Linked DNA regions of Homo sapiens: region 2 is linked to region 1. Evidence: promoter capture Hi-C in human tissues and cell types (Jung and others, 2019). All regions are on one chromosome and are shown on one strand. The core of a region is centred on a gene start or on the middle of the fragment in contact, and the rest is flanking DNA. Distances in the headings are between cores, read along the strand shown.

Region 1 (4,224 bases), core at 1-2,500:
TGGGGTTGTGAGGATTGCACAAGTTAATTTGTGTAAATTGCTAAGAACACAGCCTTAGGAAGCCTTGTCACTGTGAATGCATATTAATTTTTTTTATTATTATTTTTTGAGACAGAGTCTTGCTCTGTTGCCCAGGCTGGAGTGCAGTGGTGTGATCTAAGCTCATTTCAACCTCCGCCTCCCAGGTTCAAGTGATTCTCCTGTTTCAGCTTCTCAAGTAGCTGGGACTACAGGTGCCCGCCACCATGCCCGGCTAATTTTTGTGTTTTTAGTAGAGACAGGGTTTTGCTATGTTGGCTAGGCTGGTCTTGAACTCCTGACCTTATGTGATCGGCCCGCCTCGGCTTCCCAAAGTGCTTGATTACAAGCACGAGCCACCATGCCTGGCCTACGATTATCATGTCTCCAGGCTTCAGTTTCCTTACCTCTGAGGTGAGGATCAATAACCTGGTTATTTCTAAGTGATGCTTAAAGAGGTTGAGAAGAAGCAAAGGCGCTCTGCACACAGGTGAGGTCAACAGCTGTTAGTGATGGAGACTGGCGCCGTCTGGGTCATCAGTGCTCCGGAATCAGGCTGCTCACGGGTTTGAATCTCACTTCCACTTTCACTCCTTATTAACTGTGTGACCTCGGGCAAGTCACTTCGCCTTTCTGAACCTCAGTTTCCCCATCTGTAAAAGGTAGGTGAATAACAGTATTCACCTCCTTCTGTGTGACTCAGCTTTGGAGTCAGCGGACCGGGTTCAAATCCCAGCCCTGCAAGTGATTAGCCAGGTGACCCTGGGCAGAGGGAATCACTCAACCTCTCTGCACCTGGGTTTCTTCCTTCATGAACGTGGAGACTTTACAGGATGAAATGAGGGCACAGTTAAGGCGCCCGGTACACTCCAGGCAGGTAGGGGGCTCCGTTCACGTTATTTTCCCCTGGTGACGGATACTGTCCTTAAACAGCATTTGAAAAGTGGTCGCAGGGTGTGTGGCCCCAAAGATCCCAGGCGCTTCCGGAAGGCGAGCCAACGCTCCCCAGGCCCGTCCGCGAGCGGGTGGGCCTAAGCCTTGGAGGATCTGGGGTGGGGGTGGCGCGGGGTCCAGGCCCGGGGCGCCGAGAGGTGGCTGGTCCGGCTGCCCACGCCGAGACGCGCGAGGTGAGCGGGCGCCGGGGCGGGGCGGGGTGGGGCGGGGCCGCCGCATCCCCGTGACGCGCGGGCCAACCAGGCGGCGTTGCGGCCCCGGCCCCGGCTCCCTGCGCCGCCGCCGCCGCCGCCGCCAGCGCTAGCGCCAGCAGCCGGGCCCGATCACCCGCCGCCCGGTGCCCGCCGCCGCCCGCGCCAGCAACCGGGCCCGATCACCCGCCGCCCGGTGCCCGCCGCCGCCCGCGCCACCGGCATGGCGCTCCGGGGCTTCTGCAGCGCCGATGGCTCCGACCCGCTCTGGGTACGTGCCGGGGGCCGCGTGAGGCCGGCGGGACGGAGGGAGGCCGGCGGGGAGGGAAAGCACCGGGCCCGCAGCCGCCCGGGGCACCCCGCTCCCCGCTCTGCTGCCGGCCTCGGGGGCCCGGGACCCTCACGTCGCCCGCGGCCCAGCCCCTTTCGGGGGTGCAAGGCATGGGGGAAACTTGGGTGACTCAGTTCCTGCGGAGCAGAGCGTGGGGGGCCGCGTGCCCAGCCCTGGGGTTTTGGAGGGTCGGGTCGGGTCAGAGCCGCCGTGAGGAGGCCTTCCTGTTTTGGGGTTCCCGTCTGTAAAAACAACCTTCCAGGGAAGGGGACGCTAGAGATGGGGGGCGGGAAGAGGGGTGTCTCTCTGCTTCTGTTTTCCCATCTTTTTTGTGGTTAGGGTCCCCCCTTTTCACGAAAAATACTCCGTGACCAACGGGGTGAGCTGGGGAGGGGCTTAGATTGTAGAAAGGGACTTTCATTGTCTCCCCAAAGTTGTCGTACAAGCCACATTACTCTTCTGTGGTTACCTAGCTTTGTTTTTTTTGTTCTTTCTACTTAGATACTGCGGGGGAAGTTTGGGGGAACCAGGGAAGAAGGGGGATGTCCACCCTTGATGTGCCCTACCTGACCCTCGGCTCGGGGCAGACTTGGGGTGCAGCTGAGGACGCCCAGGACCCTGGTAGCTGTGGTCCTGCCCTCCCTTCCCTGCAACACGTGGAGCTCCTCTCTGGGGATGCCCCTTAGATTTAACCCCGGCAAGTTTTCTTCTGTAACGTGGCCTGCGGAGCCTGACTGGGTGTCTGGAGTCCACTTGCTGTGGTTTAAGCCCCAGTCTTTTGGGCTTCAGCTTCTCCGTAATGCGATTTGCCTCTTTGTTCCAGGAAGGCAGGCACTTCTGTCTCGTGCTGTCTTGATTGTTGGTGAACGCAGTAGGCAAATCTGGACACGACTGTTTCTCTCTCCTCTTTTGTTTAGGAATCAGGAGAAACAGCCTTGGTTCTTAGGAGCTGGTGATCAGCTTCCAAAAATACTTTCTTGTCCTGTTTTGCCGGCCTTTCCTCGAGGGTTGCATTTGGAGTGTTGAAAAGTCATCCTCCAGGGCCCCATTGGAGGGTTTGGTTTTGTTTGTTTGTTTTTTTTAGTAGGGTATCATTGTGTTTAATAACCTACCACACTTTGATATATCTCCCATTTTAAGCCAGTGGGGTTGGAGAGTAACCCCAGGGGTGGAAATAGAACACAGACTTTGCCTTGAGGGTCTGGGGGTGATTGGAGCCTCTTTGCAGATGGACTTTCTTTAGCAGGGGAAAACCTGTGGCTTCCTTGTTGCCAGGTGTAGTAACAGCAAGATTATTTTTTGCAAAGATTCACATGGTGATCTGGGTTTGTGTTGCTGTGAATTCCAGAATATTCTCTTGTTTATTTTCTTCTGAATTGAGGAGGGGGCAAAACAGGGTGAACATCCATGAGGTTTTGTATCAGGACGTATTTTATTGATGGCAATTGGTAGTTGATGGCTAATGAGTATGTTTGGGGTGCGCTTTGTTTATCTTAAGAAACTCATTCACGAAGTCCAGTTGTAATATTTTTTAAAATTTTTATTTTCTTTTTTCTTTTTATTTTTTCCTTCGTTAAGGACTTTCTGCCACAGAAATTGCCAGGTGGTTGGGTTTTGCTTGGGGGTAATTGTAGCTGATCTCTGCCTCTGGTAGGTACCCCATCCCCGTGTTTGACCTTGCGTATTTCTGCTGTCTGGATTCCAAGACTTGTTGGAGGTGCCTTGGAACCAGAATTTGAGAGGAGGCAACTGGGGCCTGAGTGGGAAAATTGAAATATAATTAACTGAAAGCTAGAAAGTAGGTAGTTGTTGCTTTTTTCTTTTCTTTTTTTTTTCTTTTTCTTTTTTGAGACAGAGTCTTGCTCTGTCACCCAGGCTGGAGTGCAGTGGCACGATCTCAGCTTACTGCAATCTCTGCCTCCCCGGCTCAAGTGGTCCTCCTAACTCAGCCTCCCAAGTACCTGGGACTATAGGCGTGTGCCACCACGCCCAGCTAATTTTTGTATTTTTTATAGAGACAGATTCGCACTATATTGCCCAGGCTGGTCTCCTACTCCTGGGCTCAAGCGATCCTCCTGCCTTGGCCTCCAAAAGTGTTGAGATTACAGGCATGGGCCTCTGTGCCCGGCTGTTTTTGTGTTTTTCAAGGTAGCGTGTCCGAGGCCAGGAGCGACTGGCCTCCCAGGCAGTCAGATAACTGTGTGACCTTGAGCAAGCCACTTTCCCTCTGTGTGCCTCACTTTCCTCATCTCTAAAATTGGACAGGAGCCAAAAATGTGGCAGCCTTCTTGGGTTGTTGCGAAGGGTCAATGAGTTAATCTTGTAAGTGGCTCAGCTTGTGCCCTGCACGGAGATAAACAATGGTTAGTATTAAATATTATTTTTTCCAAAGATGAAGTTGTGTGTTTTAAGCTCCTTGTTCTTCCTTTGGATTCCCCTTTTCTTCAGCTGGTGGAGATGGGATTGGGCTGTGAAAAGGCAGTGAGGCACCCGTGCCTGGCTCCTGTTGTGACCAAGGTCATGTGCTTAGAAGTCAAGGTCAGTGGGCCTCGGGTGACTCTGTCAGAGCTTTGTTTCTGGGCTACTGTCTGCCTCTGAGCCGCAGGAAATGTCCAGAAAACCCAGAAGATGGAAATGGCCCATGATAAGTGTTCTGTTGACCTTTACTCAGACAGATGCTCTGGGAAGAGAAAAGGAGAACTTTGCTATCAAAACGGAAAATAGGGCCTG
Region 2 (3,330 bases), core at 804-3,303, 210 kb after region 1:
CGGCAGTTCCCACCTCATGCTCTCCCTCTCCTGCTGCCATGTAAGACGTGCCTTGCTTCCCTTTCCACCATGATTGTAAGTTTCCTGAGGCCTCCCCAGCCACGTGGAACTGAGTCAATTAAACCTTCCTTTCTTTATAAATTACTCAGTCTCAGGTAGTTCTTTTTAGCAGTGTGAAGATGGACTAATACACAGCCCCAGCTGGCTGGGGACCTGAGATGAAAGGAAAAAGGACTTCACATGTATTGAGCACCTAGTGTGTACTTGACCCTCTCCACACTCTGGTACCAGACTGCTTGGATTCAAATCCTGGCTCTGCCAGTATTAGCTGTGAGACCCTGGACAAGTTTCCAAACCTCACTGTGCCTAGGATTTATCATCTATAGAACAGTTTCTTCCTGGTGAAGCTGTTAGCAGAATTAAATAAATTAATCTACATAGATTGCTCAGAACAGTGCCAGGCATGCAGTAAGCATGTTACAGGTCTTACCTATGAGTGTCTGTATTTAATCCTCATATCCACTCCATGAGCACGATCCCAGTTTGACAAATGAGGCTCAGAGAGGTTATGTAACTTGCCTGAAATCAACCAGCTGGTAAGTGGCAGAGCTGGGATTTGAACCTGTGTCTATTTGTGCTTAAAGCTTGTGTTCTTGTTCTTGCTTAGTACCTAAAGATGGCTGAGGATGCTTATATGGCTGCTTTATCACCAAGGCAAAAGAGGTTGATCCAGTTGCCTGGCAACAGAAGCTTCTTCCTGTACCCCCCGCCCACCTGCTGTTGAGAATCTCTCGGTCATGTTCCATCTGCCCACGGTGAGAACTGATAGACTGCCTGTGGGATCTAGCCTCAACTATGTCCCTGACTCTCTGGGTGACCTCTCTACCATACAATATGACCTCAGGTCTCACCCTCTAAGGATATGGATGAATTGCAAGGTCTTCTCTGCCCTGGCTCTTCCTACCTGTCAGCCACCAGTCGCGGGAAACTGATCCTCTGGCTTTCATCTACGCGAGCATTGTTCTGAGCCACAAAGGGGGCCTGGGTTCGGAATGCCCGGACCACTGTGCTGCCCTGGAACGTCTCAGCCATGTGGGAGCAGACAGACGAGTAGCTGGCTGACTCCAAGCGTCTCAGCTGGCATGAGCTAACCACATACAGGCTCTGAGAAGGATGGATGGGAGAGGGAAGAGGAGAAGCCACAGACATAGAGAGGTAGTTTCCAGAAGCACAGAGAGCCCCAAGTACAGGATTCCAGACCAGGATCTGTTAACAGCTTACTGTGTGACCTTGGGCTAGTTGCTTGCCCTCTCTGGGTTCTCATTTCCTTGCAGAATCAGAGTTCTATGGTTTTTTTGAAAATCACCTGGGGAGCTTCAAAAACCTCTAATGCCCCACCCCAGAATGACTGAATCGGAATCTCTGGAAATGTCACCTTGACTTTGGTGCTGTTTAAATAGCCTTCCAGATGATTCTAAGGGACAGCCAGGGTTGAGAAACCACCAATTTAGTTTAAGTGTCTCACTTCCCAGCACTGAGGCCGACTACTTCATTTACGGCTGGTCAGTGGGAGAACAAAACTGTAAGGGGCAATGAAGGCAGTTGGCCAAGTCAGTTTCACTCATGTAACCCAAGGGTTACATGCCAGGTGATGTGCAGAAAATATTCGTTATTTGGTTTGCAGCTGCAGGTTGGGTGCAGCTGGCAGACAGGCAGGCAGGGAGGAACTGAATTTGCTGAACACCCAACTGTATGTGCCAGGCTTTTCACACAGTGTCTCATTCATTGCAGAGTGAGCATTCGCGTCATTCATCAGTTAGTGGTGAGAACATCCAAGGCTCGGGGGATTCAGCAGCTGTCCTGAGTGCCACAGTAAGTGATAGAGCCTGGATTTAAACCCATCTTTGCTTGACTCTAAAGCTTGAGACAGAAACAGCCCATCCTCGGAGTCAAGTGAACTTAGAGAAGACCTAGGACAATTGTCGGGGACAGTGGTAGCCATGGGTTTTGTTGTTTGTTTTTTGAGATGGAGTCTCTCTCTGTCACCCAGGCTGGAGTGCAGTGGTGCAATCTCAGCTCGCTGCAACCTCTGCCTCCCGGGCTCAAGCAATCCTCCCGCCTCATCCTCCCAAGAAGCTGGGATTACAAGCATGCGCCACCACACTGGCTAAATTTTTGTATTTTTAGTAGACGGAGTTTCACCATGTTGACCAGGCTGGTCTCGAACTCCTGACCTCAAGTGATCTGCCCACCTCAGCCTCCCAAAGTGCTGTGATTAGATGTGTGAGCCACCATGCCTAGCCCTAGCCATGGTTTTTATCTGACTACCATGTTTTCTACTTCTGGTTTCCTGTGGGAAAGGGCTGGGTTGGGGTGCTGTCAATCATGGGACCTGATCAGAGAGGTGGTCACATGATGCAGCCTAGTGTATCAGAATCTACTATCCATTCAGTTACTGTGACGAGTTCAGAGATGGACACATGATCCACAAAGGGCCAATCAGAACCTTCCCTGGGATTAATATATGACTACTGAGCTGAAGAAACGTTTTTTGCATGTTGAGTTGCTAAGGTGAGATGATATGATAGCTAGTGGCCATAAGACCTGCCCTGGAAAGAGAGCGTGTACAAAATTAGACCAGAGGTAAGCCAGTGGTTCCTAAACATTTGTGTACATCAGAATTACTTGGAGGGTTAATTAAAACCTAGATTCATGGGCCGACCCACATAGTATCTGAGGCAGTAGTCCTGGGCTGGGGCCTAAGAATGTACTTTGCTAACTAGTCCCCAGGTGATACTACTGCTGGTCCTGGGGTCACACTTTGAGAAGCACTGAGTGAAGATATGGAGAGAGTCACTGTGTCCTGATGACAACTGGGCCCATGCCCCCAAGGAAATATAAGCCATTAAATTCTATTCTTTTGGTTAAGCTAATTTTAGTTGGTTGCTGGTCCCAGCAATTGAAAGAATCTAGCTTCATATAATAGCCTTTGAGACCTTGCAATGCCTTTTTGGCTTCCAGATAATTGGAGAGGAAGAAATTACGGCAGGATAAAAACATTACGCGTGAAAGGCTCTGGCCCTTAATATTTAACTGTGCCGTGGGGCACAGGGGCTCATGCCCTGTAATCCCAGAACTTTGGGAGGCCAAGGTGGGAGGATCACTTGGGGCCAGGAATTCGAGACCAGCCTGGGCAACACAGGAAGACACTTGTCCTACAAAAATAAATTTAAAAATTAGCCAGTCATGGTGGCACGTGCCTGTAGTCCCAGCTACTTGAGAGGCTGAGGTAGGAGGATCACCTGAACCCAGGAGTTCAAGGCTGCAGGG

Evidence for each region. Contacts are between HindIII fragments. The study calls those that stand out against the background at their distance.
Region 2: a fragment that was not itself captured here is called in contact with the fragment with the promoter of ABCC1 in region 1 in 1 of the 25 tissues and cell types used here (lymphoblastoid cells).

What each region holds. Positions count from the first base shown.
Region 1 is chr16:15,948,366-15,952,589 of GRCh38, forward strand. ABCC1 (ATP binding cassette subfamily C member 1 (ABCC1 blood group)) reads left to right here and starts at 1,251. Exons shown (of 31, transcript NM_004996.4): 1 at 1,251-1,434. The coding sequence starts at 1,387. LOC107984869 (a long non-coding RNA gene) reads right to left here and starts at 806. Exons shown (of 3, transcript XR_001752339.2): 1 at 426-806. The HindIII fragment of the contact is 39,892 bases long and covers 1-4,224 here.
Region 2 is chr16:16,162,029-16,165,358 of GRCh38, forward strand. It overlaps ABCC6 (ATP binding cassette subfamily C member 6), which reads right to left. Exons shown (of 31, transcript NM_001171.6): 24 at 965-1,164. Among named protein-coding and RNA genes, the nearest start is that of ABCC6, 60 kb to the right of the region's middle. The HindIII fragment of the contact is 5,227 bases long and covers 1-3,330 here.